Linked DNA regions of Homo sapiens: all the other regions are linked to region 6. Evidence: promoter capture Hi-C in 16 types of primary human blood cells and fetal thymus (Javierre and others, 2016). All regions are on one chromosome and are shown on one strand. Each heading gives the region's core, a stretch centred on a gene start or on the middle of the fragment in contact. The rest is flanking DNA. Distances are from core to core; before and after follow the strand shown.

Evidence for each region. Contacts are between HindIII fragments. The CHiCAGO score rates a contact against its expected background, and 5 or more counts as called.
Region 1: a contact is called between a fragment that was not itself captured here and the fragment with the promoter of RCOR3 in region 6, in 1 of 17 cell types (M0 macrophages). The highest score is 6.1, in M0 macrophages.
Region 2: a fragment that was not itself captured here is called in contact with the fragment with the promoter of RCOR3 in region 6 in 2 of 17 cell types (M1 macrophages and M2 macrophages); the score reaches 7.4 in M1 macrophages.
Region 3: a contact is called between a fragment that was not itself captured here and the fragment with the promoter of RCOR3 in region 6, in 2 of 17 cell types (M2 macrophages and M0 macrophages). The highest score is 6.4, in M2 macrophages.
Region 4: a fragment that was not itself captured here is called in contact with the fragment with the promoter of RCOR3 in region 6 in 2 of 17 cell types (M2 macrophages and M0 macrophages); the score reaches 5.6 in M2 macrophages.
Region 5: a fragment that was not itself captured here is called in contact with the fragment with the promoter of RCOR3 in region 6 in 1 of 17 cell types (M0 macrophages); the score reaches 5.1 in M0 macrophages.
Region 7: a contact is called between a fragment that was not itself captured here and the fragment with the promoter of RCOR3 in region 6, in 1 of 17 cell types (M1 macrophages). The highest score is 6.6, in M1 macrophages.

Annotation. Positions count from the first base shown.
Region 1 is chr1:210,401,539-210,404,713 of GRCh38, reverse strand. It overlaps HHAT (hedgehog acyltransferase), which reads right to left. Exons shown (of 12, transcript NM_018194.6): 6 at 35-250. Among named protein-coding and RNA genes, the nearest start is that of HHAT, 74 kb to the right of the region's middle. The HindIII fragment of the contact is 2,007 bases long and covers 750-2,756 here.
Region 2 is chr1:210,438,029-210,440,943 of GRCh38, reverse strand. The region is part of intron 7 of HHAT (hedgehog acyltransferase); the gene reads right to left. Among named protein-coding and RNA genes, the nearest start is that of HHAT, 110 kb to the right of the region's middle. The HindIII fragment of the contact is 3,981 bases long and covers 1-2,915 here.
Region 3 is chr1:210,365,086-210,368,217 of GRCh38, reverse strand. The region is part of intron 3 of HHAT (hedgehog acyltransferase); the gene reads right to left. It overlaps LOC124904503 (a long non-coding RNA gene), which reads left to right and starts at 1,272. Exons shown (of 2, transcript XR_007066866.1): 1 at 1,272-1,431; 2 at 3,037-3,132. The HindIII fragment of the contact is 2,396 bases long and covers 589-2,984 here.
Region 4 is chr1:210,325,218-210,328,370 of GRCh38, reverse strand. It overlaps a transcript of HHAT not described here. Among named protein-coding and RNA genes, the nearest start is that of HHAT, 2.1 kb to the left of the region's middle. RefSeq lists an enhancer at 127-296. The HindIII fragment of the contact is 1,479 bases long and covers 958-2,436 here.
Region 5 is chr1:210,417,132-210,420,434 of GRCh38, reverse strand. HHAT (hedgehog acyltransferase) reads right to left here. Exons shown (of 12, transcript NM_018194.6): 7 at 2,110-2,281. Among named protein-coding and RNA genes, the nearest start is that of HHAT, 90 kb to the right of the region's middle. The HindIII fragment of the contact is 6,070 bases long and covers 1-3,303 here.
Region 6 is chr1:211,257,671-211,260,796 of GRCh38, reverse strand. RCOR3 (REST corepressor 3) reads right to left here and starts at 1,431. Exons shown (of 12, transcript NM_001136223.3): 1 at 1,071-1,431; 2 at 633-689. The coding sequence starts at 1,236. LOC105372902 (a long non-coding RNA gene) reads left to right here and starts at 1,605. Exons shown (of 2, transcript XR_922552.3): 1 at 1,605-2,061; 2 at 2,222-2,984. RefSeq lists silencers at 853-1,152, 1,223-2,012 and enhancers at 715-1,214, 1,717-2,218, 2,493-2,612. The HindIII fragment of the contact is 7,419 bases long and covers 1-2,899 here.
Region 7 is chr1:210,347,106-210,350,222 of GRCh38, reverse strand. HHAT (hedgehog acyltransferase) reads right to left here. Exons shown (of 12, transcript NM_018194.6): 2 at 1,157-1,290. The coding sequence starts at 1,247. Among named protein-coding and RNA genes, the nearest start is that of HHAT, 20 kb to the right of the region's middle. The HindIII fragment of the contact is 279 bases long and covers 1,146-1,424 here.

The DNA of each region.
Region 1 (3,175 bases), core at 504-3,003, 860 kb after region 6:
ATAGAATCCCAATCCCATCCCCAGCGGGCTCTACCTGTTTGATGAACTCCGAGAAGCTGAGGATGGGCCCATTGTGTAAGACTGGATAATAAAAGACATAGGCCAGCATCCAGGGAAAGGAGTAGGAGGTCGATGCAGCAGGCAGCTGCTGCCAGCAGAGCTCCAGGCTGAAGCTGGTGTAGTACAGGCAGCGAACGGTCAGCGTGAACTGCAGCAGGTAGTACTCGTTTTCTGTCTTGTACCACCTTCTCTACAAAATCAAAAGGAGAGAACAACCTTTGAGTGGCCAGCAGGGACATCGTCCAGTCCCACTGCAGGTGCTGGCCAGCAGGGCCACCGTCATCTGAGAATCCCAGGGGGCTCTGGGAAGGCAATTTCTTCTTCAGGCAGAGCAGCTGTGCCATAAAAGGCAGTCGAGAACCAATGAACACCAGGTAAATCTCATTGGTAATCAAAGCAAGCAGTTAATGAGCAGTAGGAAAAAGGACATCTCTAATGTTAACCTAGCATTAGGTCTGACACAACATAACGAAGGTTTTCCCAGTTAGGCATGTATCAGATACATCCAGGGCATAAGGTGCAGATTAGCTACATCCAGTGGATACTTTGACAGCTTCTTCAACAATTCAGATAACAAAGAGGGGCTTAAAATGTCCCATGGGATTTCTGTCTTCAATGTATTTTTCGTTTTCCTCTTTTGTTATCAGTTTGGCTCTACATTTAGTTGAGTAGCATTTGTCTAATAAGCTTTACAGACAAATATTTAAAAAAAAAAAAAAAAAGTCCCTGCCCTCAATATGTTAAATTCTCATACAGGACGTAGATGTGTAAAAATGCAATTACAATAGAGCATGAAACAAGAAATAACCTGTGCAAAAATATGCATGGAACAAAAAATGAGAAGGAAATACAATAAAATGTTAATATCGGGGAGTAAAATTATGAAGTATTTTCTAATTTCTATATTTTTCTACATTTTCCATGTTTTCCAAAAATACATTTAGTGAGAAAAACTATTTATGGAAATACATACGAGAAATAGAACTTGGGTCAAAGGAGAAAGTAATTAACTTGATCCATCAGGGTCTCTTAAAGCTGTACACAGAAAAACCAACCACTGAACAGAGTTTCTACTTCTTGTACAAGACTTTAGCAGCCACCAAGGGAAAAGAGGATAATCATATCAGGAGAACCACATGTGCAAAAGCATGGAAACCCAGCTAGTTTCTAATCACATGATCTCCTTCCTCAGTGTTTTTCAAATCACTGTAAAATTTGCAGAACAAATGAACATTTATTCACCTCCAACATCTATAACTGATGCTAATTGTCCCCAAATAAATGATAAATGGAATTAGATTCTGTTTGTACACTTGCCAGGTCCCCAAAAGGTTAGGTATGAGCTTGTTTTTATTTTTACTGTAAATCTGTTTTTAAGCACACTTGCCTAAATGGTTGCCTAATCATTCTGGGAAGTATCTTCATTAAAACGGAGTGATTATCTGATATACTCTCATAAGTCCAGATTTTGACATACGTGCTTAAAATGCTAGCCCCACATCATTAATGAGAGTGAGAAAAATGAAGGTAGACTAAAAACAGCAAAAAATACTTGAACTTTCAAAATGCTACAATTTTCACAAAATCACTTAACATAGATTATCCCGTTTGACTCTCAGAACAATCCCATGAGGAAGGAAGAGGATTTATTACTTCTGTTTTCCAAATGATGAGATTGAGGCTCAGAGGTTAAATGACTGCTCCAGCTTCAGAGTAGGAAGAGATGGGGAATAGAATAGACTAGGAACCAGGTCATCCATCTCACATTTCCCATCATGTTCCTTCCCATCACTGTGTTGATGCAGGGCACATGAATGCTAAGTGTTGTCACCTGGATCAATGAATGAGTGACTGAATGAATGAATAAAAAGATACCACAGGAGTTCCAGTCCCACAGTGATTGAAGAAAGAATACCCAACACTGCCCAAGATTTTGAATGTGCCTATGGAGATCCTAGGGGGTTAGAGGAAGGGATAGGTGTGTGCAGTGTCCCCAAAGCTCTAGGTGACACCTGGTCACTTACATGCTACTGTTTTATTGTTTACCAGTTTGTAAGAGCCAGCAGCTCTCAGAGCAGTATCGGACACTAACTGATCTGTTTTTCTGTGGCCCTCTTTTATTTCTTACCTTTAGAGACTGAGGTCTAAGCTGTACTTTGAAAGAGAATCCGGTGGACAGGGATGATGAGAAGGTTGGTTCCAAGAGACAGCATAAACATACGTAAATGTGTAAAGGGAAAGGTAAGCAGATTGGCCTGACTCAAAAAAACAGCTCCTGCCAGTTGGGCAGTGTTTGGGAACCGGGCTAGGAAGGAGAAGGTCGATGAAGGTGGGAAACATCAATGGTCCTGCCCTGGGCATATGACCCCTGATGTTTTCCAAGCTGCGCAACTCTCAGGCTGGCTGTTCTCAGAGTCAACTGGCCCCAAAAGTGAAGGGCTCTGAAGCTGAGTGCCCAGAACCAGACCCTGGAGCTGGGGCCTTGGACTTGTGTTCTTGCCATGCATTTCTCCTTAAAAGAAAGCTCCCACTTCTGGATGGTTGAGAGTTCCACACAGACTCTGCCTTTACTCCCCTGCAGCCACAGACCTTGGCAGCTCCAACTTGAACATGTAAAGGGTGTATTCAACAGACAAGTGAGAGAAGGAACCTCACACAGCCTGAGTGGGCCTGAGATAGGCTGAGGGGCCTAAGCTTCAATTGCATAAGCAGGGCTAGGTCACTCCAGTTACCAAAGACAGAAACAGATAGTCCAGAGCCGTCCAGGGGATGCTAGCCACTGCCCAGGAGATGATCAGAGAACACACAACAGAAATCAGAAAATGTAGTACAAGAAGAATTTGCTGATAGGTGCAATCGCCTCAGCAAGGCACAGGAAACTCAACTCAGAAGGCAGTCTGTCTGTCATCCACCAATTCTCTGGGTCAAGTCTGATGTGCACTCATAAAGTAAAAATGCACTGTTATTGTGACTGAGAAAAAAAATAAAGCTAAAAGGTAAGTGCCTATAAAATAAGATTTTACTAATGCAAACAAAAGCCCTAAAGAAGTGAGGTTTGAGCCCAGTGTCCTCCTCTATTAGCACCAACAATGGATAGGTGGTTGAGTCTGTCAAA
Region 2 (2,915 bases), core at 130-2,629, 820 kb after region 6:
TTAATGAATCTTATTTTCTGCATAAATCATCCAAAGTTGGTTTCTCCTACTTCCAAAGAAGAAACTGATAGGTTCAAGAAACTGATACTCAGTACCCGTCAGCATCAGACACTCAGGAAAAACTAGGGAACCTAGATTTGGCTGTCTTGATGCTTTGGAGCTCAAGGCAGTGAAAATCCAGCTACTAATCAACAGTGAGAGTCTGGAAGCTCCAGGTACACAGTGTTGAAATTGTTCATCAAATTACTGTCTGGAGTCACCTGGAAAGAAGCAACCACTGAAGCCAAGACTGGGTGACCGAGTAGACAATTCCACAAAACACTATTATGGGGAATACTAGGATGCACTGCCCAGATTTCCTTAGGCAATGAAGGACTCACTGTCCCAGCTGATGGGAAGTGACCAGCAGAAACTCTCAGCTGGGGATTACCTCCACTGGGGATTGCGTCCACTCAGGAAAGCTACCTCACCCAAGCCTTTCTGGGGTGGGCTACATCCAAGGACTGATTGCCATGGGGGTAGAAAGGCTTAGCCTCCTCACTCTGCTTGGGACCACTCCAAAGAATTACCCAACCTGCAGAACTCCCTACAGAATCGACTGGAGCTTCCATGAAGACTGCGTCACAGTTGGCTCCTCCCTCTGTCAGGCCCTCCTTCCACCCCTTTCCTCCTACAGGAATTAATCTCAAGAGAACACCCTAATAAACACCTACAAACTAGCCTCCCTGGGGAACCCAACTTACAACTACTAAGGGCATGATGTCTTTAATTCCAAGAAATATGGTGTAGGCTGCCAAGCAGAGCGTAAAGAATGAGAGTAAGAGGAGAATGACAGGCTCCAATTCCTAAATTCTCAGCTTAGGGTATGGACTGAAACCCAGGGACCTTCTTGGCCTCTGCTAAAAACCATCTCTTATCTCTTCTAGTCAGCGGGCTCAATAAACAAAAAACCCCAGAAGTTTTATCCTTAGCTTTATTAAATTACAATGTCAGCTGAATTCTCACCCTTGCAAGGTATCTATAGACTGGGCTACCAATCTACAAAGAGTGAAACTCCTAAAAACTAAAACAGAGATTTAAGGTGATTAAGAAAAGCCCAAGTCCCCAAACCTCAGGGAACATCACTTGTCAGCAGCGACAGCCCCTTTCTCCCTGTGTAAGGCTTTCAGATGAGGCTGATCTGGCCTTACCTGAAGACCCTTTTAATGAAGTCTCATGAAGGAATTACTTTGCAAGAGAAGCAGATTTTCTTCATCTCTCCTGCTCATCACGCCTCACTGTCTAGAAATGAGCCCCAGCATGCCCCAAGGGGCCTATTACAAGGCTTTCACTCCAAAAGAACCACAAGGTTTTTCTACTTTACATTAGCAAAACTCTGACCTATATATGTGGGATTCTAAGGAATCTAGATGGAGGGAAGAAGACTAAATAGATGGGGTGGAATGATCAATATGAGCACACTTACCAGCAAGTCAGGATTCCACATGCCAGCTGCAGCAGCTGGGAGTGGAGCTGACTGTATGAGTTTGGAAACCCAGACACCACAGCTGCCCATATGTATGGGGCTGAGATGCCAGAAATTCTTTGGGAAGTCAAGAGAGGAAGTAATAAAATGATTTCAGGAGATAAGAATGTCTGAGTGGATTTATCATGTGTGACCTGCTAGCCCACTCCCTAATTATGCCCCCAAGAGAGCTCAGAAGACACTCCCTTCACTGAGAATTTGAGAAATAAATACATTAGTGAGGGGAGCACAAGCGTCTCAGAAATGTGTTGCCAAGGCCATTCTCTGTGGGCTGAGGATGCTGTTAAGAGACAACGAAATTCTTTATTTCAATGCGGACACCAAACCCCTTAAGTAATAGACTAAATAATGCCACTTAACCCCAAGGTGACGTGTGCATGATGACCACAGTAAGCCACATGGCCTTCCTGGCGGTCAGATGCTCTGATTCACTGGGATGTTTGGAGAAGGGCAACTGATCATGAGGTCCATAGACCTTAGACAGACAGATACTCAAGTTGAACCTCTCTGTGTCTCCATTTCCTCACTGTAAAATAGCGATACGATTCTATCTGCTCATAGGGCTGCTGTGAGAATTACATAGGCTAATATAAAGCTCTTAAAGCAGTGTTTGGCACAGATTAAGTGCTCAATATATGCTAGCTATCATTTCCACTACGGTTATTTTTATTGTCATTATATAACTGGCAAATAATCTAGTTTTAGTGAACAAGGCTTAACTTAAGCCACCATGATCATTTACCCAATTTCCAGACCTGAGTCAGTTCACAGACCTAAAGACCCTAAAACAGCCAAATAACCGTAAGAAAAATCATGAACAGAGCATGCCAATAGGACCTACAAAATTAGGAGTGGCAGGTATACCAGATGCCTTAATAAGTATGAGCATATCAGAAATAAACATACATATATATATGTGGGTATATCACTTCAGAGCAGTTTCTGGGAGTTCAAGACACAAGTAAAGGACAAGTTGGTCTACCTTATGCCACTCATCCATAAGAAAGAGGCACAGCTTTGGTAGACCTCTTCGGAATTTGGAGGTGATATGTATGTAACTGTGCAGGCCACTCTAATTCATTCACCAGGTGAGCTATCCCTGACCACAGGACACCAAAGAACCATGTTACCTGAGTGGTCCATTATCAACTAGAGTTATCTGATCCACCTAGCCACAATATCAGGAAGCATTCCATTATCAATGGATACATACACATGTGTATACACACACACACACACACACAAACACGGAGAATCCTGAGGTCACAATTAAGTTGCAGGAAAAGAGAACTCCTCCTCCCAATATGCTGACTCCTGCTATGTGGCTATCCTTCTCTCATCCCACACCTAAGGCCCCAAGAGGACTTGGTAGAGGAGGGGAAACAGCTCT
Region 3 (3,132 bases), core at 537-3,036, 890 kb after region 6:
CCAAGAATCTATGATCTTGAATCCTAAATAAAAGGAAAAAAATGAATGACAATATACCTGACATAGAACTTCATTTGTATCAGTTTGGTTCAGATGCTACTGTCTAGAAACATGTTTACTTCATCGAGCACGCAATGTGGGCACTGAAATATTTCCCCTATCTCCCTGGCATCACTAGAGAGAAGACCAGCAAGAAGAAAGAAAAAGGGACTGGCAAATACAACGACAGATCACCCCAGAACCCAGCAAGGCTGGGTTCACCCCATTCTAGCACAGCACACTGGAGCCTGCAGGGGGTGGGGGGTGGGGGAGGGGCTTTTACCCTGACAGCCTGGAAGAGCAAACATTACAAAAAAAGGATGCAAAAACCAAAGCATATGGAGTCTGAACAGCCCTTGACAGCCGCACCTACGCAAGCACCCACACCACTTCTGTTGTCTTGGCAAGTGCAATCAGCATTACCCTCAAAGAAATGACAAAGATCAAAAGCATTCTTGATTGGGGCTGTAATCCTCCAAACCTGAACATCATCAAAAACTGGAGGACTACAGTCAGGTCCAGCTCCCTTTCACTGCCCTAAGTGAAGCTTCACTTTGACTCACCATTTCCCTAATACATTCTTCCCTTTTCTAACCATAGCAACACCACTGGAACAGCATCTCCTCTACTGATGATCTTGCCAAATCCTACTCATTCTCTGGAGCTCAGGTGAAGGTCAGCCCCCTTCTCCCAGAAGCAGTTTGTGATTTTTTGTGCCCAGAATGGTGTCTCCCTACTCTGACTCTACACACTGTCCCACTTAGCCCACTTACCTACATGGCTATCTAGAGGCACGTAGGACCAATGTATTTCTCACCTCCATGCTGCAACCTGGCCCTTCACTCTTTCCTGCAGTTAAATTCAATAAAATACTCACTGACTCTGCTCCAGGCATTGAAGATACAGAAATGATTAAATCCCAGCCCTGCTTTTGTGGGACCCACAATCTAAGTCAGAAAGGACAACATCAAATAAAATTCTACAAATAAATTTGTCATAATAGGGTACACGATTTCACCCAAAAGAGTGCTATCCTATCACCCTGTTTACTGCCTTCATGTCATTTAGCTCAATCTGTGGCCATTGTTCATTTGTTTGCGGTCAGCCTGTCCCTAGTAGGAGAAACTAGCATAGGAATGTTGTCTGTCTGGCTCACCACTGTCCCCAGCGCTCCATATGGACTTGAGCACAGAGACACTCTCATTGAAAGCTGTATTTGTGGAAGGAAGTAAAGAGAGAGGCAGGGAAGTGTCAGGAACTATGAGCACCAAGCTCAGCTTGAGCTTCAGGCAATGCTTCGTGACAGGGAGCCAGCTATGATCTGAAGTCTGAGTAAGGGCCGGACAGGGAAGGCGTGAGCCCCAATCCAGAAGAGGAACAGGATGAGTAAAGGTAAGAATGGCAAATCGGCATGACCAAGGGAGTGGTCATTTAAGAGCCCTTAAATATTGCTATAGACCAGCTGCTCTTAAAAGGGGATGATTTTTGCCTCCTGGGGGCATTTGGCAATGCATGGAGACTTTTTAAATTGTTTCTTGTTTTTGATTTTATTTTTAGAGACAAGGTCTCACTCTGACACCCAGGCTGGAGTGCAGAGTGCAGTGGCACGATCTCTGCTCACTACAACCTCCACCTCCCGGGTTCAAGCAATTCTTGTGTCTCAGTCCCTGGAGTAGCTGGGATTACAGGCACACACCTGGCTGTAATTTTTGTATTTTTAGTAGACATGGAGTTTCATCATGTTGGCCAGGCTACTCCTGACCTCAATGATCGCTGGTCTTAGCCTTCCCAAGTGCTGGGATTACAGGAGTGAGCCACCACACCCAGCCCACTTTTTAAAATTGTTAAGGCTTAGGGCAGGAAATGCTGCTAGCATCTACTAGGTAGAGTCCAGGGACTCTGATAAGCATTGTACAACGTCCAGAGCAGCTCACCACAACAGCCATCTAATCTAGAATGTCAGTAGTGGCCAGGCAGCATAGCTCACACCTGTAACCCCAGTGCTTTGGAAGGCTGAGGCTAGGAGTTCAAGACCAGCCTGGGTAATATAGTGAGACCCCATCTCTACAAAATATTAAAAATCAGCCAGGTATGGTGGTGCATGTCTGTAGTCCCAGCTACTCAAGAGGCTGAGGCAGAAGGATCGTTTGAGCCTAGGAGTTCAAGTCTCCAGTGAGCTATGATTACAACCACTGTACTCCAGCCTGGGTGACAGAGCAGGATCACATCTCTTCAAAAAAAAAAATTTTTTTTAATAAAATGTGGCCAGGCATGGTGGCTCATGATTCTAATGCCAGCACTTTGAGAGGCTGAGGCAGGTGGATCACTTGAGGTCAGGAGTTTGAGACCAGCCTAGCCAACGTGGTGAAACCCCATCTCTATTAAAAATACAAAAATTGGCCAGGCGTGGTGGTGTGTGCCTATAATCCCAGCTACTCAAGAGACTGAGGCAAGAGAATTGTTTGAACCTGAGAGATGGAGGTTGCAGTGAGCCAAGATTGTGCCACTGCACTCCAGCCTGGGTTACAGAGCGAGACCCTATCTCAACAAAATAAAATGTCAGCCAGGCATGGTGGCCCACACCTGTAATCCCAGTATTTTGGGAGGCCAATGCAGGTGGATCACCTGAGGTTGGGAGTTTGAGACCAGCATGGCTAATATGGCGAAACCCCATCTCTACTAAAAATAAAAAAAATTAGCTGGATGTGGTTGCAGGTGCCTGTAATCCTAGCTACTCAGGAAGCTGATGTGGGAGAATCACTGGAACCCAGGAGGCAGAGGTTGCAGTGAGCCAAGATCACACCACTGCACTCCAGCCTGGGCAACAGAGGGAGACTCCGTCTCAAAAAAAAAAAAAAAAAAAAAAAAACTGTCAGCAGTACTGAGGTTTACCAACCCAGCTGCAGACTAACATTCAAGGGATGGGCTGGTCAGAAAACTAAGCTTTCTTCTAAAGGTCATGATTTCTAGTCACATCTAATATCTTCTTTTGATTAGAATTTGGACCAAAATAGCATGTGCTTGCCACTTCCTACAGCCTCTGAGAAAAGAAATATTCAGCAAGGAGTATCTTGATCCTAAGGACCCATATCA
Region 4 (3,153 bases), core at 448-2,947, 930 kb after region 6:
CAAAATGGGTACGAAGATTTTGATTGCGTTGTGAAAAGAGTGGAAGATCTGAAGATGCTCCAACGGGGTATAATTGGGACGATGTTGCTGCTCGGAGGCCTCCAAGCCTGAGCCAAGAGACAGGCTTGCCAGAGTTCTCCAGACTTATCTCAGCAGAATCACGTGGCTCTCATTAAAACCTCGGGCTTCTGGATCCCTCCCCAAACCAAAAGCATCAGACTGTCCATGGCAGGGGCGTCTCAGGTGGTTCTATGATAAGGTGAAGGTGGATAACTCTGCCCTAGGCAGCAGGGAAACTCGGAAGCTGTGCTCTCAGAAATTTCATCTAGCAGTCATTGTAATGGTCGAGAGGATTATTTTAATGATTTTAGAATTCTCCAGGAAACCAGAGTATGAACTCTCCAAGAGCTGGAGCTATCTTTTCTTTCTGCTTCCCCCCAACCCACTCACCCCAAAACCTGGTACTGGATGGTGTTCAGTAAGCAGGTGTTAGTAAACTAGCCCCAAATAGGAGTGCCAGATTTAGCAAATAAAAATACAGCATACTCAATTAAAATTGAATTTCAGGCTGGGCGCGGTGGCCCACGCCTGTAATCTCAGCACTTTAGGAGCGGTAGCAGGAGGATCACTTGAGGCCAGGAGTTTGAGACCAGCCTGGCCAACATGGTGAGACCCCGTCTCTACTAAAAATACAAAAATTAGCCGGGTGTGGTGGCCTGCACCTGTAATCCCAGCCACTTGGGAGGCTGAGGCACGAGAATCGCTTGAACCCGGGCGGCAGAGGTTGCAGTGAGCTCAGATCGCACCACTGCACTCCAACCTGGGTGACTGAGCCGGACTCTGTCTCAAAAAAATAAGTAAATAATTTCAGGTGAACAATATGTAACTTTTTAGTATCACTATGACCCATGCAATATTTGGGATATACTTATTTTTTTTAAGTACTTACAGGAAGCTTGTAATCCCAGCACTTTGGGAGGTCGAGGTGAGTAGATAACTTGAATCCAGGAGTTCGAGACCAGCCTGGCCAACATGATGAAACTCCATCTCTACCAAAAAAAAAAAAAAAAAATGGTATATCTGAAATTCAAATTTACATCCTGGGTATCTGAAAATCAAACTTAACTGGGTATTTTATCTGTCAACTCTAGATCCAAGGGTTTGGCAGAGGGAGTGGCAGAATAAGAACTCAACTCAGGTAGTGTCAAACTCAGGGACAGGGATGTGATAACAGCTCCTATATTATTTCTAAAAGATGCTGTTGTTAATATAGGTTCAGTGTGATTTACACTTAACCCCTGTCTACATATGCACTTTAAATTCACCGGCGAACACAAAGGAGATAAAGGCAGATTTAAACACAGGCAATCAGAAACATCAAATAAAAATAGCCAAAATTTATGTGTGTGTGTATATATATATATATATATATATATATATATATGTATGTATTAGAGACAGTCTCACTGTGTCACCCAGGCTAAGCACAGTGGCATGATCTCAGCTCACTGCAGATTCAAGCAATTCTTGTGCCTTAGCCACCTGAGTGGCTGGGATTACAGGCAAGCACCAGCCACCACACCTGGCTATTTAGTAGAGACAGGGTTTTGCCTTGTTGGCCAGGCTGGTCTCGAACTCCTGGCCTCAAGTGATGCACCTGCCTCAGCCTCCCAAAGTGCTGGGATTACAGGTGTGAGCCACCATGCTTGGCCATAATAGCCAAAATTTAAAGATAAGCAATAGACTGGGATATTTGCAAGAAATTTGCAAAGTGTTAATTTTAAAATTATATATAGAGTTAATACAATCAATAAGAAAACATTAGAAATCAATTATAGATGAGCAAGACACATTTATAGACAACCCACTAGAAAAAGGAGGAGGGAAATAAAAGTAGGAAACAAAAATATATTGCAAAAAGCTCAATGAAATGCATAGTAAAACAAGAACATGGTGGCTCACGCCTGTAATCCCAGCACTTTGGGAGGCCAAGGTGGGTGGATCACGAAGTCAGGAGATCAAGACCATCCTGGCTAACGTGGTGAAACCCCGTCTCTACTAAAAATACAAAAACAAAATTAGCCAGGCATCGTGGCGGGTGTCTGTAGTCCCAGCTACTCGGGAGGCTGAGGCAGGAGAATGGCGTGAACCCGGGAGGCAGAGGTTGCAGTGAGCCGAGATCGTGCCACTGCACTCCAGCCTGGGTGACTGAGCAAGACCCCGTCTCAAAAAAAAAAAAAAAAAAAAAAAAAACAAGAACACACAATTTTCACACATTAAGTTGGCAAAAAATTAATAAATAACATTACAGCCTGGCATGGGTGCTATGTGATAGCACTCACACACAATGTTTAGTTGGGTAAGCAATTTGGCAGTATGAAAACTTAAAATTTATCAAAATCTAAGGGAGGTGGGGCAAGATGCCAAATAGAAGCTTCCACCAATTGTCCTCCCTTCAAGAACAACAAAATGAACAACTATCAACAAAAAACACCTTAATAAGAACCAAAGATCAAGTGGGCCATTGCAGTACCAAGTTTTAACTTCATATCACTGAAAGAGGCACTGAAAAGCGTAGAGAAGACAGTCTTGAATTGCAGACGCTACCCCTCCCTCATCCTACAGCAGCAGCTGGGGAAAGATTCTCTCAGATCTTATGCAAGACCACTAAGGTGGTACCTCTGAGTCTGCAAGAGCCGTAGCATTCCTGAGCTTGAGGTGCCCTCTAATGCAGATATGATGGCAGTGACCCAAACCTAAATGACAACACCCAAGTCCCTTAGAATACCTGGAAAGCCTTCCCAAGAAGGATGAATACAAACAAGCCCACCCTGTGAAGACTACAATAAGTACCTAACTCTTCAATGCCCAGACACTGACACACATTCACAAGCATCAAGACCATCCAGGAAAACATGACATCACCAAACAAACTAAATAAGGCATCAATCCCAGAGTGACCTTTCAGACAGAGAATTCAAAATAGCTCTTTTGAAGAAACTCAATGAAATTCAAGAAAACATGAGATGGAATTCAGAATCCTACCAGGTAAATTTAATGAAGCAAATGAAATAATTGAAAAGAATTAAGCCCGAAATTCTGGAGCTGAAAAATACAATTGATATGCTGAAGAATGCATCTGAATCCTTTAAT
Region 5 (3,303 bases), core at 163-2,662, 840 kb after region 6:
GAATAGCAAAACCCTGTAAAAAACTCAAGTGTCCTCGTATATGTAGAACGGACAAATAACTTCTTGTATATGGATACACTGGAATGCCATACAGCAGTGAAAATAAGTGCTACCTAGTTACATGTCTTAACATGAATGCTTCTCAAAAACATAATGTTAAACAAGAAAACCAAGTCACAGAACATACATAACAAGCATGAATCTATTCATACGACGAGGTGTTAACATATGCAATTTTAAGGATTTAACTGTGGTAAAAGTACAAAGAAAAAGAAGAAAAGGATAAATACAATATTCAGGTAATCTTTTCAGAGAGGGTAATAGAGGCTGATGGGATTACGAGTACAAACTAAGGGCTTCTACGATTCTGGTTAGTTCTTAAGCTGAATGGTGGACACACAAAAGGTGTGTTGGTGACATCAGAGTCACATAATTTACTACCCCTAGTGCCGATCTTAAGTATCATTGTTATATGGAATAACTTCCTTATTGTTTAAGCCCCATTTTGAGTTGTGTCTTCCATTACTTTTAGTTTAAAAACCCTCAAGCTGAAACAGTCCCTTAGTTTGTATCCCATACAACTGGGATCTGACTTAGTATAAGCTATCATTTAATCATATTCTGTTTGTCTAATTGTATCATTAAAACTTTACAATATTAGCAACTCCAAACTATAAAAAGTTTTGTTTGGAAGAAAGAGACTATCATTAAACTAGCTTAGCATTTTTTCAATCTTAAAGGTTTCGTCCTTGGAAACATTCTGATTAAGTACGTGTGATACCAAGAACAATCAAGATTTGTTTAAGAAGATCTATGAAATGTTAAACAGATAAAGAAGGAGTCAGGCTTGTACTCTTGCCCTCAGCAGGGAACAGCTTGATCTGCCTGGAGGATCACACAGTTATTGGAGCTACAGGCTGGAGGTCAGAGCACAGGCAGAAGTCAGCCACTGCGGGAGTCCTCAAAAGGAGAGAGAACAAGGAAGTGAAGAGATTTTATTCAGAAAAGGGCGTGGGCTCTGCTGTTTTGGCCAGAGGAATAAAAGAACAGTGGTTTCTCCACAGACAAATCCTATACTGGAGACTAGCCCTGCTGAGGAAGTAAGACTTCCATGCCACCTCCCTGGCAGACACACAGGAAAGGGTAGATAAGGAAAGGGGATCTACAGAGGGAAATACACACACGCCATTTATTCTATCCCAAGACAGTGTACAAGGTACACCCTCAATGTGCAGCGCTGCCTAATATCCTCCTATTATTCCACAAAGCTAAGTCTCCCTATTTTACAGATGAGGGTGCTGGAACCGAGAGGTTAAGTAAACTGCCAAGGTTACACACCAGTCATTGGTGAAGCTGAAACTCAAACCTATGGCTGTGTGATCCTGAAACTCATTCTTTTTTTGAGACAGAGTCATGCTTTGTCACCCAGGCTGGAGTGTGGTGGCATGATCTTGGCTTACTGCAACCTCCGCCTCCCAGATTCAAGTGATTCTCCTGCCTCAGCCTCTCGAGTAGCTGGGATTACAGGTGTCTCTCACCACACCCAGCTAATTTTTGTATTTTTAGTAGAGACATGATTTCACCTTCTTGGCCAGGCTGGTCTCAAACTCCTGACCTCAAGTGATCTGCCCGCTTCAGCCTCCCAAAGTGCTTGGATTACAGGCATGAGCCACCACACCCAGCCTCATATTCTTTAATACCTTATGCACAAAGAACAAGGAAGACTGTGGAACAACTCAATCTTGGAGCATTCTCTCTTAGAATGAACTCAAAGCTGCCCCCAGCAACTCCTGCCTTCTACTGCTAAACACAATATTGGCTACGCTGTGAAGATGTGGACCCAGCTAAGGTCAGTAGGATCCCATTACAGAGAAGAATGCCACCATTCTTGGTCCCCAGACTACAAGCACAGCCCTCACTTCCGTCAGCTACATCAACCACTTCTCACATGCACAATCTTGGCCACAAGAGGAGTAGGTTAAAAAATAATAATAAAGAGGGTTTGCTATAGGCACCTGCACCCCTGCTCACCCCCCACTCCAGCTCCATTCTGATGCTAACTGTTGGACTATTGGGGCTCATCCCACTGTTGGTGATTCCCACAATTACCTAAGGTCCAACAAGAGACAGTCTCCAGGAGGGGGATGCTGCTGTAGATGGCATGCATGTACATCAGGTGAGCCATCAGCTCGGCCAGCCACCACCAGCAAAGAAGGCGGCCCAGCCCCAGGGCCAGGACACACAGGCTGGCCTTCAGGGAGTCATGCTCCTGCTGCTGCATCTAAAGTGGAAACAAAAGAGGTCATTCGATGGTGCCTTGATTCCTAAAACAGTCCCTTAGATAAGATTTTTCATAAACTTCCCACAAATATTATTGCTATGCCAGCTGACAGAGGGTTGGTTTGGTTTGTCTTGGGAACACTCAATGTTCTTGGTTGGAAGAATCGTATTTCAGCTTGAACATTTGTCTCAAAATAAGAATGGGGGTTGGGGGTCAACAAGCTAGCCTAGTGCCAAGAGCCAAAGACACGTTCTGCACTGATCCCTCCACTCCAGCATCAGCCCTGGAAAAACCCAAGCGGGGAGGGCAGCACTCAGTGTATTTTCCCCACTGGGAATTTGGAGTTTCGGGCTACAGGTGCCACCCTGCCTGAATTCCTCCATCACCTACTCATGTCTGAGGCTGGCAAAAGCAGGTCCCAGTCAACAAGAGACACAGGACTGGTAGAAGAGAAAGAGAAAAAGATGGGCTGAGAGCAAGGGAAAATGATGTGTGGGCATGTCATTTCACCCTAAGTTGTTTTTTGAAACATGGCAGACAGTATGTGGAACAAGTCTCTTGCTTAGTAGGCAGCAGAGCATAACAGTTAAGAATACAGACTTTAGAAAATGTAAAATAAGGTGGGGCATGGTGGCTCACACCTAGAATCCCAGGACTTTGGGAGGCCCAGGTGGGCAGATCACCTGAGGTCAGGAGTTCGAGACCAGCCTGGCCAATATGGTGAAACCCCATCTCTACTAAAACTACAAAAACTAGCTGGGCATGGGGTGGCACATGCCTGTAATCCCAGCTACTCAGGAGGCTGAGGCAGGAGAATTGCTTGAACCTGGGAGGCGGAGGTTGCAGTGAGCCAAGATCACACCACTGTACTCTAGCCTGGGTGACAGAGCAAGACTGTCTAAAAAACAAAACAAAACAAAAGTAAAATAAGTCACTTCGGGTAGCTTTGCCATCAAAACAATATTGAGTTTCACTCCATAAACTCGGGCTGTTTTTCCATTTATCAGGTCTTCTTTAAATTT
Region 6 (3,126 bases), core at 182-2,681:
CTGGCGAGCGAGGTGTGCCTGCCGCTGGCGTCTCCCCACCCCCTTCCCCCACCCCTTTCTCTCCGCGGCTCCTGCACTCCGCAGAGCTGCCGCGACCAAAGCTACACCACCTAGCCAAAAAGAAAGAAAAGAGACAATCCCGGCTGCGCACAGGTCGGCAGGGCTCGCCCTTGGCTTCCCCGGCCGGTGACAGCCGCCCTGGCCTCTGCCACCCGCCCGACAGAGCGCGGCCCTCGGCGCCGGGGCGAGCGAGGTGGCAATTGACATTTGCACGGTTCGTCCATACAGTCCGCACGCCTGCTCCTCCAGCCCGCGGCCTCGGACCCTGGACTCCGCCAAGGGCCGTCTCCCTCTGCTCACCCCGACCCTGCCCCAGGCTCAAGGGCTAGGAAGGCGATGCCCCCAGCGGGCAAGTGGCCTCCGAAGGGAACCATGTTAACCTTGCAGTGCACACATCTGCCCACACGCCCAGTGTCACAGCCCGGCCAAGCCTGACAGCCTCCCCGCCACGGATGCCTGCCCAGCCCAACCCCGCATCCCCTCCCGGCCCCATGCCCGGACTCCTAGCCCGTCCACCCCAAACCAAGCCCAGGAAAGGGGATATGAGATTTTGCTTAAGCAAATATATCTACCTGGATCAAATTCAGGGATCCGAGCTTGGTATTCGGCTCCGACTCTCATCCCAACATCTGCAAAGCAATGCCAAAAAATATATATAAAAAATAAAAAAGAAGAAAAGAAAGAAAAAGGAAGAGACACTTAAAAAATAAAAATCGCTAGATGGAGGAAAGAAGCGGCGGGTGGATGGGAAGATATCAACTCGGGGCACTCCGGGAGATGGCAGCGGATTGGGGGCGGGGAGCGGGGGGGGGCAAAGGCGGAGGATTGGTCGAGGGCGGAGGGACGGGGGGTCGCGGGGGTGCTGCTGCACTGCACCGGGAGTTCGAGGCTACCGCAGCGCCCAGGCTCTGAGGGGAGGGAGGGCGGGAGAGCGGCGAGGGGAGGGGGCTGGGGGAGGGGAAGAGGGAGGGGGGCAGGCGGGCTGGCGGGGAGGAGTTCGAGGCTACCACCGTGCTCGTCGTCGCTGCTGCAGCCGCTCTCGGGCTCTGAGTAGTGCAGCCCGCCGTTGGTGGACGAGGCGCCGCTGCCGCCGCCGCCTGCCGGGCTCTTGGCGCTGCCGTTGGCCGATCGGTTCTTCCCCAGTAACTCGGGCCCTTTCTCCATCATGCCGGGCATGGTAGAACAGGGGAGGGGGAAAGGTGAGGGGAAGAGGCAGGCGTCAGGGTGAAGGCGGAGATGGCTTAGAGCGCGGGCGGGAGGGAAAGGAGGAGGAGGAGGAGACGGCGGCGGCGGCGGAGGAGGAGGAGGCTGTTAATATGGAGCCGCCATAACCGCCCCGCTCCGGCAGTAGCGCAGTCGCCTCACAACAACCCGCCCCGGCCCCGCCTCTCTCCCCTCCTCCCTCCGCCGCCGCCCGCCCCGCGCAGTCCCGGGCGCCCCTCGGCCGCACCGCGCTCTACGCCGCCGCCGGTATCACTCCGCTCCGCAGGGAGGTTCCGGCCGCCTGGGGGGAGGGGAAGGGGGGAGGGGCGGGGAAACCCCGCTCGCAGGCAGCCGGGCCACCCCAACCAAGCGCTAATAAAATCGCCACCGAGGCGTGGCCGCCGCTCGGGCTTTCTTCCTAGGGGGCGCTCCGGAGCGCGGGCGGGAGATGCACACGAGGGAGCGGGACTCTTTGCCCTCTCTGGGCGGAAGGAACGCGGTCACCCTGAGAAAGGACCGGCGCGACCCGACTGGGCGACCGGGGGGAGCGGCCCCCCCCCTCTGCGGACCGGGCTGCAGGCACGGGCCTGAGCGCGGCGTTCCTCAGATGTCTGGACCCGCAGGCCGCTCAGTTTCCCGGTGTCCGCTGGCAGCCTCGAGCTAGGGGCGCGCTCTGGCCCGCGGTGCAGTCGCGCAGTATAGCAGGGCGGCCTTGGGGCTCTGAGGCCCAACCGGCGAAAGAAGTAGACTCGGCCCTAACCATCTCGACGCTACAATTTTTGTTTCTGGATCTCTGAAGTAGGGCCCAGTTCCCGAGAGAGAGTCTGGGGATGACGGGATGAGTTTCCGGGGCTGAGCGATGCAACTGTTTTTTGCTGAAGCCCCTCTCCCCGATCCTAACCCTACTGTCTTATTCTTACCATCTTTCTTTCCTTTTTTTTCTTCTCTGTTTTAATAGCTGGGGAGTGAGTGCTGTGGAGTGAGGGGGAAATAAGATAAACATGAGACCTGGCCCAGTAGACGCGTTTTCAGTTCTTGCTGACCTGCGGTCTCCGCTTGGAGCGCTGGGGGAGAGGGCGGAGTCCCCCGGCAGAGGTGAAGCGAGAGCTGCTTTCTGGCAGCGTTTCCAGCCTGGAAGGAGTTGTGCTCTGTAATGCTTTTCTGAATTGCATTCGGCGAAAGGAGTAGGAAACTGCGTTTATTCCTTCACCAGATTTGAGGGCATCTGCTGCGTGCCAGGCTGCCTGGCATTGGGGGCTGTTTATGATTTTCTTTTCCTCTTTTTCTGATTTCTTCCCCCCCACTGACGAATAAGTAGAAATAAGTGAGGATTTAACTGTGAGCCTCTAGTATGCAGATGTATGCTGAGCGGTATTGGGGTTCAGCAGATACTCTCCAAACACTTGAAAATACTGTCTTGTAATAATTCTATTATGGGTCAATCCAGAGTGGATCAAACCAGAAATGAACGTCTCTGGCCAGAGCAAACCTTACTGAGAGAAATAATATATCTAACTCAGGAATTGAGCCAAGAAAACCCTGGGAAGTAAATATTTCTGAAGTGAAAAGTCTCCTGTGTGTGTACAAAACTATCTGGTTCTAGTAGTAGAGATAGTCTCATCTCTCTATTAAAGCTTAATGTGATTCCATTAAATATTTGAATCATAAAACTGGACCTTTTATTCTGTTCCTTTTCTCAATAAATGCAGTTCTGAATATTATTTTAATTCCCGTATAGTTTTCCTACAAGGAGAGAATGCCCTGGCCAAATGAAATGAATAGCCATTTTCCTTGACAGTCGTTATTTTTCATTACAAATTAATACACTGGTATGTTGGTCTTTATGCAGCAGTTTCTAATGAA
Region 7 (3,117 bases), core at 36-2,535, 910 kb after region 6:
TGCTATAAACATCTTTATTTTATGGCTAAAGTTATTTTGTAGATATCAACAAATTGACTCTAAAGTTTATACAGACAGGCAAAAGACCCAGAATAGACAACACAAATAACAGTTAGAAGACTTCTATCCAACTTCAAGACTTAATGTAAAGCTACGGTAATCAAGACATTATGGTATTGGTGTAAGAATAGACACCTCCCATTTTCAATATACTTTATTTTTTAAAAGTAGTTTTAAAGCCAGGCATGGTGGTGCACTCCTGTAGTCCCAGCTACAGGGTGCAGTGGCTCACGCCTGTAATCCCAGCACTTTGGGAGGCTGAGGCAGGAGGATCACCTGAGGTCAGGAGTTTGAGATCAGCCTGGCCAACATGGTGAAACCACGTCTCTACTAAAAATACAAAAATTAGCCAGGCGTGGTGGTGGGCACCTGAAATCTCAGCTACTCAGGAGGCTGAGGTAGGACAATTGCTTGAATCCAGAAGGCAGAGGTTGCAGTGAGCCGAGATGGTACCATTGCTCTAGCCTGGGCGACAAGAGCGAAACTAGGTCTCAAAAAAAAAAAAAAAAAGTTTTAGGTAGCACATAGCCACCAACCTAAAGACTATTTCCCAGCCTCCCAGCTGTGCCCGTGGGACTCAGTGCTGGCCAGTTGGGTGTGAGCAGGAGTGACTAGTGCTCCTTGCCAAACTGCCGCTAAAATAAAGGAGGGCCCCCATTCCCCTTCCTTTGGGCTGGAATGTGACCTGATGATGATTTATCTCCAACACTCAGACAAAGGCAACACTAAAAATGACAGAAGAAGACAAAACGAACCCAGATCTAATATGTCTCAGAGGAGTAATGATGAAAGAGAAATTTAAGAGTTTACTTTGAATTCTGAACGCAAATCCCCTCCACGGCCTTCAATAGCTTTTGAATCAAACCCACCAATTATAGAAGACAAGCCACAGCATCACCTAAAAGACCTAGGTTTAGGGTAGAAAACTCAATGGACTCAGGTCACTGATTCAAACTATCCAAGACATGGGGAAGCAAATCAAGGCCCACATCATCTTGACACTATTGGATCATCTTCTTGAATCTTCCACCTCTGCTCCTTTTTTTGACAGGAGTTTCCTTGTTTGATAGGAGGTCTGAAAAGCTTGGGGCCTTACCTCTGGAGACTTTGTAAACTTCATAGAAGGAATAGAAGTGGAAGCCTAGTGAGGCAAGTAGGTAAAGTGCCAGTTCCCATCGGGGCAGCATGGCTCCTTGGCACGAAGGTTCCCGATGCCTACGCTGAGAGTTTCTGAGAAACAGAGACAAAACTTTAAGCCATGAACATGACACTAGAGAACAGCATCTAAACATCAATTCAGTTAGTTCACACTCCCGGAGACCCATCACTATTCAAGGTGATACAGACATAACCCCAATCAAGCTTCCTCCTCCCTGTGAACTTACTCCATCCTGCATCCAACACACACACACACACACACACACACGCACACATACACCACACATGTGCATCCTGCCTGTCAAAGGGGTCAGGTCTTTTCCTAGGAGTTCCCACAGTCTCCCATCAGAGTATACATCAGACAGTTCTCTACCCATTGCATAATATGCCTGTCTCTTCTGTGGAGTGGACCCTCAGATAGCAGGGACCATGATCTCTGACTCACCAGCCCCTAGCACAGTGCCTGGGATGTAGCAAGAAGGGACTACCAGGTGCTCTGTGAATAATAAATGGCTTCAAAAAGTCTGAAAAGCACAAACAGTATACAAACCTCTAAATCAACAGGTTCACCATCCTTGTTGTCCCTTTCAAGTATCATACTATAGGCCAGGCATGGTGGCTCATGCCTGTAATCCTAACACTTTGGGAGGCCAAGATGGGAGGATCACTTGAGGCCAGGAGTTCGAGACCAGCCTGGGCAACATAGCCAGATCCCCTCTCTAAAAGCAATAATAAAATAAAAACTTAAAATCAGCTGTCTGCCATGCATCTATGCACTTTATTTATGTATTTTTGGAGACAGGGTCTATGTTTCCCAGGCTGATCTTGATTTCCTGGCCTCAAGTGATCCTCCCACCTCAGCCTCCTGAGTAGCTGGGTTTATAGGCACAAGCCACTGTGCCAGGCCTCATCTGTACATTTCTTAAAGGGCAGTTAATGACATAATCACAGACATCTGTGACAGACACTGCTTGTTACCCACCGCCCCTCACTACCCCTTTTCAGAATTCAGTCTCTCTTCTTACACATCAATTAAAATTTCCTCTGGACACCAACACTACACTGTAGCTAAGTGTGGACACCTGAATAGCTCCATTCAAAAGGGTGTGAGTGAAGGGACATGGCTGTGGCCATCTCTTTCTTTCCCTCCCTTTCCTGTTGAACAGAATTGGAACAGCCTCCGTGGATGAAGAGGTGAAAGCCACATGGACAAGACAGAGGCCTCTCAGTCCCCAAATCCAGGTACCACCCCCAAGCCCCAAAGTGCCCCAGACTACTTAGATCTAGACTGTTACAGGAAAGAGAAATGCATTTCTAGGTTGTTTAAGCCTCTCCTATTCTAGATCTCTCCATCATGGCAGCCATGACTATACTCTAAGTAATAGAGAAGGTATAGGAAAGTTAGGTCCTAAAATTCAGCAAATTAAATGATTCCAAATGTTCCAAGTAACAAAGAGTTCACTAAATTTAAACGCATTTATGGCCTTTACTGCTTTATTTAAACCTCTCAAGTATGTCTCATTGTGGATGCCAAAATAAGAGCAAAATTTTAAGCAGCACCTCCCACCAACCCCACCAAGTACTTCTAACATGTGACAGTCATGCCAAACCCCAGAATTCACACATTATCTCATTTTGTTTTCACAACAGCCTGGTGAAGTAGGTGGAAGTGGAACAGGGGAGGTAGGCATTTTATAGATGACAAATGTGATGAGGTCACAGAGCCAGAAATAACTGAGCCAGAGCAAAAAAGCAAATACTGCATGATCTCACTTATATGTGAAACCTAAAAAAAGTCAAACTCACAGAAGTGGTTGCCAGGGGCTGGGGCGGGGGAAGTGGGGAAGATGTTGGTTAAAAGATGTTGGACAGGATGAATAAATTCTGAGGATCTATTAT